Regions from separate parts of the Homo sapiens genome. Here regions 2 and 3 are each linked to region 1. The links are contacts of gene promoters, found by promoter capture Hi-C in blood cells and fetal thymus (Javierre and others, 2016). All regions are on one chromosome and are shown on one strand. The core of a region is centred on a gene start or on the middle of the fragment in contact, and the rest is flanking DNA. Distances in the headings are between cores, read along the strand shown.

What was found. Contacts are between HindIII fragments. The CHiCAGO score rates a contact against its expected background, and 5 or more counts as called.
Region 2: the fragment with the promoter of KRT23 here is called in contact with a fragment that was not itself captured in region 1 in 6 of 17 cell types (endothelial precursors, M0 macrophages, M2 macrophages and 3 more); the score reaches 7.5 in endothelial precursors.
Region 3: the fragment with the promoter of KRT12 here is called in contact with a fragment that was not itself captured in region 1 in 1 of 17 cell types (M0 macrophages); the score reaches 5.5 in M0 macrophages.

The regions. Positions count from the first base shown.
Region 1 is chr17:41,342,376-41,345,704 of GRCh38, forward strand. No RefSeq gene overlaps it. Among named protein-coding and RNA genes, the nearest start is that of KRT33A, 6.8 kb to the right of the region's middle. The HindIII fragment of the contact is 4,681 bases long and covers 1-3,329 here.
Region 2 is chr17:40,936,274-40,939,962 of GRCh38, forward strand. KRT23 (keratin 23) reads right to left here and starts at 1,373. Exons shown (of 9, transcript NM_015515.5): 1 at 1,073-1,373; 2 at 1-680. The coding sequence starts at 330. The region is part of intron 1 of LOC107985072 (a long non-coding RNA gene); the gene reads left to right. The HindIII fragment of the contact is 1,536 bases long and covers 927-2,462 here.
Region 3 is chr17:40,865,746-40,869,070 of GRCh38, forward strand. It overlaps KRT12 (keratin 12), which reads right to left and starts at 1,478. Exons shown (of 8, transcript NM_000223.4): 1 at 875-1,478; 2 at 410-492. The coding sequence starts at 1,441. The region is part of intron 1 of LOC105371777 (a long non-coding RNA gene); the gene reads left to right. The HindIII fragment of the contact is 7,860 bases long and covers 1-3,325 here.

The sequences.
Region 1 (3,329 bases), core at 386-2,885:
GAGGGCATTTATAGCCCTATCTTATCCATATGAACATGCACCCCTCATGCGTCCGTTTATAGGCTCTCCTCAAGGGTCGCATTCCGTTCTCAGAGCTATGAACATCTGCTTTTCTGGGATAGGAATCTTGGTGATGTGAAACATCCCTGCCTGCCCTTCCGTTCATAGACTCTGCAGGGGGAAGCACATCACACGCTGTTGGCTTATTCTGGTAGTCCAGCCTGGCATTGTCTTTACACAATCCTGCATGCAACTTTGTATTTACAATAATCAGGAGCATTTCATCTTTTATTCCATAGCAATAGTTTCAAGGGCTCCCCCTACACTTTACATTTCAGTCCTGTGCTTGTCCCTACAAGTTTAAAAAAAAAAAGTGAGAGTGAGGGAAAGCTACCTCTGCACACCTGCAGCAGGCTCAGCGAGGAGCCTGGTGGGGCCGGGGCCCACCTGCCTGGCACATAACTTCATCAAGTTGTCAGTGTGCATTTTGCAATAACAAGGGACAGATCATGTCATCCTCATATCCTTTTATAGTTGGAGCCATTCTTGGGACTTTTGGTGCCTGCTGCCAGACTCTCCTGTTTTTGATGAGAAATGTGAGCAGTTGTTGTTAGATGTCAGTGATTCTTCTTTGAAACATAAAAGAAGACATACCTGACTTGTAATTGTCATCCACTACCCTGAAACTTTAAATGTTAGTGTTCAGTAAACCTATTTTCCATTCAGCTGCCAATGCACTCCTTTTAATAAAAGTGTCAATCAAATTCATCCTTTTAACTCTCCCAAGGCTTTCCTCTTCCCTTGAAATGAAATCGGATCCTCCACAGAACTGGCGAGCCCCCATGTACCCTGGCCACTGCCCACACATACAGGCTGATTGTTCCTCCCCTACTCATCACTCCCGATGCCCTGGCCTTGCTCCCTTCTTCAAAGGCAACTGCCTTACTCCCTCCCTTCCTTGACTTTCTGTCCCTCTCTCTGGAAAGCTCTTTCCCTCTGCTCTGTTTCTTCTCTGTTTTCAGGTCTCAATGCAAATGTCACCTCTCAGGCAAGCTCTCCAAACTGAGACAATAGGAGCTCGGTTCACATCTGTCAAAAATAGGAGCAAACAGGCTGTTAGGAGGCTGAGTAGAATGTTTTACTGGGACTAGACAATATCAAACTTAGATCCCAAGAGCCCAGGAATTCGTATTCAAGGTCAAAGTGTCAACAACAAGAATACTGAGTCTTACATAGGTACCATGCTGCACCATTTATAAAGCACTTCCATACACAGGGGATCTTCACAACCCCACAATGCTGCCAGGCCAGGTCTCTCAAAAGGAGGACTCTGATGGTCAGGGGAGTCAACAATATATCCAAAACCAGGACCAAAAAATGTTGCCTCCAAAACAAGCCATAATTCTTCTTCTCATCACAGCATCCCACACCATCTCCTAGTGGGTAAGACTCATAGCCCAGCGCCATCATGGTTTATTTCACAGGGAAGGGTGGGGCAGGGATTAGGAGACATTTCCCAGGGTCTTGTTTCCTTGCTTCCTTGCTATGGGCCTCTCCCCTCAGAGCACTGTTTTCTGAGAAGGCCTGGCTCGAGGAGCTGATGACCTCAGCGACTGCAGACCTGGGAACCTGCAGAAAGGAGAAATTAAGTTTGCACCTGGGAAAGCCCAGGGTTGAATAACAGAACCTCGCCTTTAAGAATTCTTGCTTTTTTTTTCCTGCCTCTGCATTGTTGCTGAAATATACAAGAGAGAAAGAAAGGATTCTGAACCCATTATTTATCTCCTCCTTCCAAGCAAGCAGCAGACATTCATGATTAATGATGAGGTGACTTTCTACATTGATTTAATTGAAATCTGTATCCTATCCAGGTTATTTTTAAAGTTTATAAAGACCTTTTCTACTGATTCTTCTCTTCCAAACTCAAATAAAGAAATGTTTTATATACATGATCTTCCACTAAAAAGGAGCCCAGACTCTCAGATCCTCAGGAACATCTGTTCTCCATTCTATAGGACTGTGCTGCTGAAGACAAATGGAGTAGCGAGTGACCAATCTTTGAGACTCAGCATTCTCTCTATGTTAGCCCTAACGCAAAAGAGAGGACTGGTCCGCACCTAAGGGAAGAAGGTGGCCACGAGCAACTGTTGAGGGCTGGTCTCCTTAGCTGTCCTCTGGTATCCACAGCCCTGAATGGAAGGTTTTGGGTATTTTTCCCTGGACATCTCTACCACACCTAAATATATGGTCTGCAAGTTTTGGAGAGAATTTCCAACCCCCACTCTACCTCCTGCCCCTCCCTACCTGTTCTCATAGGTTGATGATATTCTAATCTCTATTAAGAGTTCCCATTCTCAATATCTCTTCATTTCAATCATTGATTTAGAAAAGTAGGAGTAGAGAAGTGAAAAATGAGACTCAATCTCATTTGTGGGCTGGGCCTTGGGTTTCCTTACTTGATTGCTGTTTTTGTTTTTTTAAACATTGCCAAATCTGGATGCCACTGAAGGCAGTAATGTGACATAATGATGGTCCCAACTGCATATAAATAAAAACAGGTGGGGCCAAAGCTCAAGGCTCACTAGGACAAAAGAGACTTTTCCGCCAAATAACCCACTCACAGTTCTCCATCATCTGACGCAGACCCCAGGCAACTGAGCAGAGAACTCCAGCATAGAGTTCCAGGCCCACATCATAGAACTACAGAAAGTCACAAGGAGTCCTTGAGTGCCGAGGCAGGAACAAAGAGAGGAAGGTGAACCAAAGGCACCTCCCCACCATCCAGCCTAGCAGATCCCACACTCCTCCTGGCCACTATATCCCTCTACCCTTTGCTGCTCCTTCCTACTTTCTACCTAAACATTTCAGCACAGCATGGTTGTGTGTGTGCATGTGTGTGTGGTGTACATATGCTTATATGGTATGTGGTTATGTATATGTGTATATGAGATTATATACCATATGTTAAGGTGATAGATTTATATTACCTCAGTACAGGTTTTTTTTTTACTCAAAAGGTTTTCGGATCCCTCCACTTAATGTTTCAGAATAAATAGTTCCTGTGTCTCTAAAGACACCTTCATATGAATTTGCCATTCTGTTTCCCACCACCTTCTTCCCAAACACTAAATCCGGGTTAATAGTCTTTCATGGAGGCTTTTCCATTGAAGGAAATCATAGGCCATATATGGGGTGAATAACCTCTTCATCTGATGGAAAAACTCTGGTTATTTTTTTAATTTATACAAGACAGCCAATTTTGGAATTAATGAGTGAAACAGACAATTATAACTTTTGAATAACAGTTTATTAGGAGGTTAACAAAGGAT
Region 2 (3,689 bases), core at 123-2,622, 410 kb before region 1:
CTGCTGGTGCCATTTCAGGATGCGGCTTTCCAGCTTCATGTTGGCCTCCTCCAGGGCGCGAACCTTCTCCAGGTAGGAGGCCAGGCGGTCGTTGAGATTCTGCATGGTGGCCTTCCCATTTCCGCCTAGTAGGGGGCTGCTTCTTCCAGAACCCCAAGACCCTCCAGGGGGTGGGCAGCTCCGCGTGGTGAAGGACAGGGAGATGCGGGCTCCCCCCGCACCGCCATGGACGGTGGGAGCCCTGGGGAAGCTCCTGGGCCGGCCCCAGCCACCTCCGGCGCCATGGAAGGAGGCCGAGGGGGTCTGGCTGAAGCTGTGTCCGGAGTTCATGGTCCCATCTGTGTTTGGGACGGGGCTGAGCTCTGCTCCACTCCCTGGCACCGCAGAACTGAGCCGCCCCAGACTGCCCTGGATGGTTTTATGGCCTTTGCTGTGGGAGTTCCCTTCTCTGACAATTGTACCAACAAGATTGTATCATTGTGCAACTTGTGTTTCCTCTTGGTCAATCCCAAAGTGCCCCTGGGCCTTCGCACACTGTTGTTGTTTAGAGCCACATCAATATGACAGTTTGCTTCCTCCCTTCCCCTGGTAACCCGGAGGTGTGGCCCACGACATCAGGCGGGTATTGGGCTCAGGTATCTTTCTAATCTTGCCGTGAAGTTTTTCCATTGTTCATTTACCTGGAATGGGTTAGGTTAAAGTCCACCCAAAAGAAAGCATATTCGATGTAGTATAGATTTCCTTAAAAAAAACCAAAAACCAAAACCAAAACAAAACAACAACAACAGCAACAAAAAACCAGACATTAAACAACAGAGATACACACACCTTTTTCCACCCCCAATAAGCCCCACCTCTAAAGGGAGGGTGAGCGAGCCTGGAGAAGGGAAAGCCAGCTCAGAACAGGATCTCAGGTCCCAGAATAAAGCTTGCTGTGCTGAGGCAGCCGAGAAGGTGGTGAATATCTGATGCCTTTGTGGCAGTCACTGTTTGAAGGAAAGTACTTTCAAAGGACTCGCTCTTAAGAACAAACCCTCAATTATAGATGTAATTAATTAATGAATGACCGAACCTTCCACTTCCAGGGTGCCTTTCATCCCAGCACACCTCAAAACCAAACAACCCTGGCCTGCGCTCAGGATTTCCCTTGGCCCTGGGGGAGGAATGTAGCCGTTGTTAGCAGCCCCGGACCCCGGCTGAGCCTGCCACGGCTGGGCTCTGTGTGTCTGTGACCTGCAGAGGGACGATGGAAAACAGGAAACCTGCCATGGGCTGTCAAATGTGGTTGATGAATCTTATATTTCATCTGCCAAGGTAAAGGTTAGGAATGAATAAAGAAGCAGTCTGGGGGCGGGAGCCACGTGCTAGTTACTGGCAGTTGGATTTAAAGGGGACTTACAAATAAAATATCAGCGCAGGAAGGGCTTCTGGCCTTTCTGGTTCCAAGCCACTAATTGGACAGATGAGGAAAGCTGAGGCCTATGGTGGTGGGGAGGTTAGTGGCAGAGCCAGGGCTAGATTCTTTCTCCACATAGCACTGTTATCTTGGGTTGAATCTTGACAGGTCCTGTACCACACTTCTCTTTCATAATAATAGGACTTGCCAATTGGTGTAGCTCTTTTATATTCTTTATTGAATCCTCACAACTCTTTATGTATCCAGGCAAGGGTTGTTGTCTTCATTTTGCAGACAAAGAATCAGGGTCTCATAGGGATGAATGATCCAGAGCTGATTCGCATGTACAGTGTAATTGAGCACATGAATTCATAGGTGACACTGCCCGAGTCTGTGCTGTCCTCCCTGCCTGGAAAGTCACTCACCCCTACCTCTTCTATAGTTCAAGGGCTACCTCCTTCAACAATCATTTTCTGAATTCTCCTGCATGAGTTGGGTGACCCTCTAGGAGGAAACTGCCTCTTCTGGATGCCGAGGTCCTCCAGAGGGGCAGACACCTTGGCATCCCACCTCATGGTGGAAGCTGGGAGCCCCTAGCCAGGCGCAGCCACCTCCTGTGCCTGGGATGAAGTCCACTCCGTTCTTTCACTCCATTATACTGCATTTGCCACACCCTTCTGAGACCGCAGGCTTCTTGAAAGCAGAGTTTATGTCTTCCATTTTTGAGCACCAAAGTCTGGTTTCTTGGTGGTATTTTGCAAATGTATGTTGACTCAATCATAAACTTTTTAGAGTCAGGATTTTAACACAGGTCTCCTGATGCCATCAACTTCTGCTCCTTTTAGGACTGTGAGTTATAGAACTAGAAAGTAGGAAAACGCCTCTCCTGGGTATAGATTAACCATCCATGAAGGCCAATCTTTTCCAATTACAAATAAAGCCACCCAAAAGCACACCAGCTCTGCTCCTCCCAGTCTTACAACAAAACCTTATCAGGGAAGAGTCTCTGAATATTTTTTATTTCACTGTGCACGAGCTGGAAAAATGAGCCTCCAAGCCTCAGGGAAGCTTGGAGAGTGCTTAGAAAGAGTGCCGACAGTCACTTACATCTCAGATATGAGAAAAAGACAAAAGAGACAAGTGATAAAAATAGAGCAAATGAGGGAACTAGAGAGACTTGTTTGGCGAGTGGTGGCAACCAGTGTTCTGTGGATGTGGACGGTTCCTGGTCATCAAAGTTATGGTCAGCTCTGGTTCCTGTTCGCCTGGACCCAGACTTACCAAGGAAGAAAACATTTACCTTTAGCATGTGCAAGGGCCGGGCTGCACTGCCTTTTTCTAAATTCTCTCACCAGAATCTACAATGAAATTAATGCTTCTCTAATTATTTCAGGCATGTCTGAGTGGCAGTGACTTATCAACCCCATAGATTTGGCCACTGTCTCATTTTATGTCCATGTGTGGGAGTTTTGATTTATAGGACTTATCCTTGAGCAAAAGATTTCTTGTGTCATAGCAGGACCAGGGCCAGGAAAAACTGGTGGTGAGATCTGAGAGCACTGGGGAGAAATAGTCTCTTCTAGTACTGTTATATGATGGTTTCCCATAACTTCTTTTTTTTTTTTTCTCAAGATGGAGTTTTGCTCTGTCACCCAGGCTGGAGTGCAATGGCGCAATCTTGACTCACTGCAACCTCCGCCTCCTGGGTTCAAGCGATTCTCCTGCCTCAGCCTCCCGAGTAGCTAGGATTACAGGTGCGCACCACCATGCCCAGCTAATTTTTTGTATTTTTAGTAGAGACGGGGTTTCACCATGTTGGCCAGGCTGGTCTTGAACTCCTGACCTCATGATCTGCCTGCCTTGGCCTCCCAAAGTGCTGGGATTACAGGCATGAGCCACCCTGCCCAGCCAATTTTCCATAACTTCTTTTTTTTTTTTTTGAGACAGAGTCTCGCCCTGTCGCCCAGGCTGGAGTGCAGTGATGTGATCGTGGCTCACTGCAACCTCCACCTCCCGGGTTCAAGCGATTCTTCTGCCTCAGCCTCCCGAGTAGCCGGGACCACAGGTGCGTGCCACCACGCCCGGCTAATCTTTGTAGTTTTTAGTAGAGACGGGGTTTTACCATGTTGGCCAGGCAGATCTTGAACTTCTGACTTTGTGATCCACCCACCTCGGCCTCCCAAAGTGCTGGGATTATAGGCATGAGCCACCGCACCCGGCCCTGGTTTTCCATAACTTCTAATGTGTAGAGTTCCATTGGATTTTAAAAGAAATGATGCTTTTTTAAAAGCAT
Region 3 (3,325 bases), core at 228-2,727, 480 kb before region 1:
TGAACCTGGGAGGCAGGGGTTGCAGTGAGCCGAGATCGCGTCACTGCACTCCAGCCTGGGTGACAGAGCGAGACTCCATCTCAAAAACAAAAAACAAAAAACAAAAAAAGAAAATTGAGGTTTAGGACACTGGTAGGATTATGGTGTCAGTCACATCATGAGTTGAGTCAATAGCACACTACAAATATCGTGATCCATAGCCCTGGGTTTAAGTAACTTATAATTTAAGGACATTTAATCTGAATTGCATTAGATTCTAATTACTTTCTAGAACACCCTATGTGAATTTACCAAAACAGTAAATATATGGAGTATGTGAACTTCAGAAGATTTTATATCAATGAAGGCAGGACAGTAGGACAGAAGACATGGTGGGACACGCCCATGATCTTCAGTTTATTCGACTCACTTCATCCTGAAGTCCTCAGCAGCTAGTCTCGCATTGTCAATCTGCAAGAGGAGCTGGGCATTTCCAATGCTGGCTGAAATGATCTGGCAAAAGAGAGGGACACACACAAGATTGAAGCCCTAAAAGACTAGTATTATACAAATATATTTTTGACACAAAGGTGAAAATGGTGATATTAAATGCTGTTTTATTTAGAGTTTAAGACAGTTTCATTTTTCTAAGACAATATCTGTATAAAATAATATTGAGAAGTAAAGAAATGCAGATTTCCTACAGAAAGATAATGGAAATACAATCATTTCTTAGTAAATGATAAAGTGGAGTGAAACAACCTGGGATGAGAAAATTGCTGCAAGTACAGCTAAATTGGAAAATATCAAAGTTGTAGGTGATTATCACTGTAAAACATTGTAATGGTAAAAAGGAAAAAAAAAATTCCCAAAGCGCCTCCAAAAGAGATCTTACCTTATTCCTGAGGTCTTCAATCAGTGGATAATATTTGCTGTAATCGCTCTGTGAAGCATCTGCAGTCCCAGTTCCTCGTGTTTCATACCATTCTCGAATTTTATTTTCTAGCTCAGTATTAGCCTCTTCTAGAGCTCGCACCTTATCCAGGTAGGAAGCTAATCTATCATTAAGATTTTGCATAGTTTCTTTTTCTGATCCAGAAAGAAGGCCTCCATCATTGCCCGAGAGAATACCTAGAGAGCCACCTCCTGGGCTGCCCCCAAATCCCATCCCCAGCCCTCCAAAGCTACCTCCACCCAGGGCTCTCCCATAACCAGCACCCAGTCCTCCTGCCATGGAACTTCCGGAGCCACCCCCAAAGCCGGAACTAGAACCAAACATGGAAGCAGCAGAAAAGCCTCCCCCACAGCTGGCTCCAAAGCCAAAGGCACTTCCCCCATAACCACTTCCAACACTGGAAGCAGACATGCCCCTGGGTCTGCCTATCACACTCTGCGAGGAGAGCCGCCGGGACAGTCCGGGGGTGCGCACTGAGAGTGACATGGTGTTGTTGGAGAGATCCATGGCCTGGGGAAGGTGGCCACAACTGGAGAGGAAGTTGTGCCAGCAAGCCAGAAAGCTAAACTTATATAGGCTGCAAGATGGGTGTCGCAGTTGAAAAGTTCACTTTCTCCACTCAAAATTGGATCCTCCCCCCAGGTTTTTGGCCAGCTCAACAAGTGAATGATTTATGTATAATGAAAATTCATTGATACAGAAATAATCGAATAATCATTTCCATTAAATATTTGTTATATGAAAAAGAAAGCTGGGTGGAGTAGAGTCTGCTTGTCATAAGGAATTTTTCTTCTCCAAATTAGTCTGTTGCCTGTATTCCCAGCACTGCCTAGCGTCTTGTTCACAGTAGGAAGATAATGAGCGATTGCTGAATGGATACGTTAAATACTTCTTCCTAAACCTTATGCTTTTTTAAGTTCTTCCCTGATCTTTTCTGTTTGTTTCCTTTGGAAAATCCAGTGTAAACCATTTGTTTCCTTTGGAAAAACCAATCCAATGTAAAATCCAGTCATGATCAAGTATACCTTTTAGTGGAATACAGCTTCAGAAGCAGCTGTGAAATGCACTGGTGAAAGGTGGAGAATAAATATATTTTCCAGATGGATACTAGAATTTGCATTTTCAAGGATTTTAAAACCTTGGCTTTAGGATGTTGCATGTTTCTTTTCCCTCTTATTCTTCAACTTGGAAAAGTACTATTTTTGAGTACAGTTGTTTATAGTAGAGTTTATTATAGTTGTTTTAGCAGTTTTACCTTGTCTGATTGCTCACTGCTCTACACTCAGCATTTACTATGTTTATTCCTTCAACAGATATTGCCTGTAATGGTTGCTCAATAAATGTGTTGACTAGTTGAATGGATTGTGTAAACACTTCAGATTTTGTTGCCATTATCAATAAGGAGAAAGTGGAAACACAGTTCAAATTAAGAAATGATTAAAACCCCAAGTTTAAGAGGCTAGTGAACCATTTCAGTTGACTGCTATGATGAAAAAGGATAAATTTTACAATATAGAATAAATTAAATGTTATATTTTAAACTTTGTTGTGAAAACTTTGCAAAGCGTGCTTCAAGGAATTATATCCAGTATCTTTAATTTTTAAGACATAAAGTTCTTATACTTTCTTGTTTGGTATATTATTTATCTTTGAAATTGATATGGCTTATATATTGAACATGAGAACTAACGTTCTTACAGGAAATGCATTAACTTGAAAGAAGCCTGCTTTCAGAGAGAGTTGTAGATACCTGGAAACCGAGTAGTACAATTCCAGGGTGGTGGAATTCCCTTAGGAATTTAAATTGTGAGCATTTTGATTGGATAAGAAGGAATAAGGATTTTTCTTTTACATGTTTTCTTTGAGATGATGGCCCAATTCTCTACATGTCTCATTGCAAAATAGTTCTATAGTTTTTTTTTAAATATAGCTCTCTATGTATTTATAGTAGGAAATTTAGAAGATGCAGAAAACATAAAGAAGATGTATGTATATATGAGTATTTTATATACATTTTTGAACATAATTGATTCAATATAAGATTTTATAATCTGCTTTTCTCTTAAGATTATATACTTATCTATCACTTGAACTTTAATAATTGGGTACAGAACATGGATTGTGGATTCTTCGAAATCCTTTGTTGGATTCAGATTTCTAAATTCAGTTTGCTCTGTATTTGATGATAGGAAATAAAATTTCTGGGTGTAAATAACAGTTTTTTTGCAAAGATGTTTATACTGAATTTTATTAATAAGGTATACACTGACTGTGTGTGCTATAGACATATATGTATTTTGACTAGAATGGATTTATTGAAATAAAATACATTAAAATCATTGTAATGATACATTTCCTACCTCGTGGGAAACAGGGCCTTCATTTCTCCAT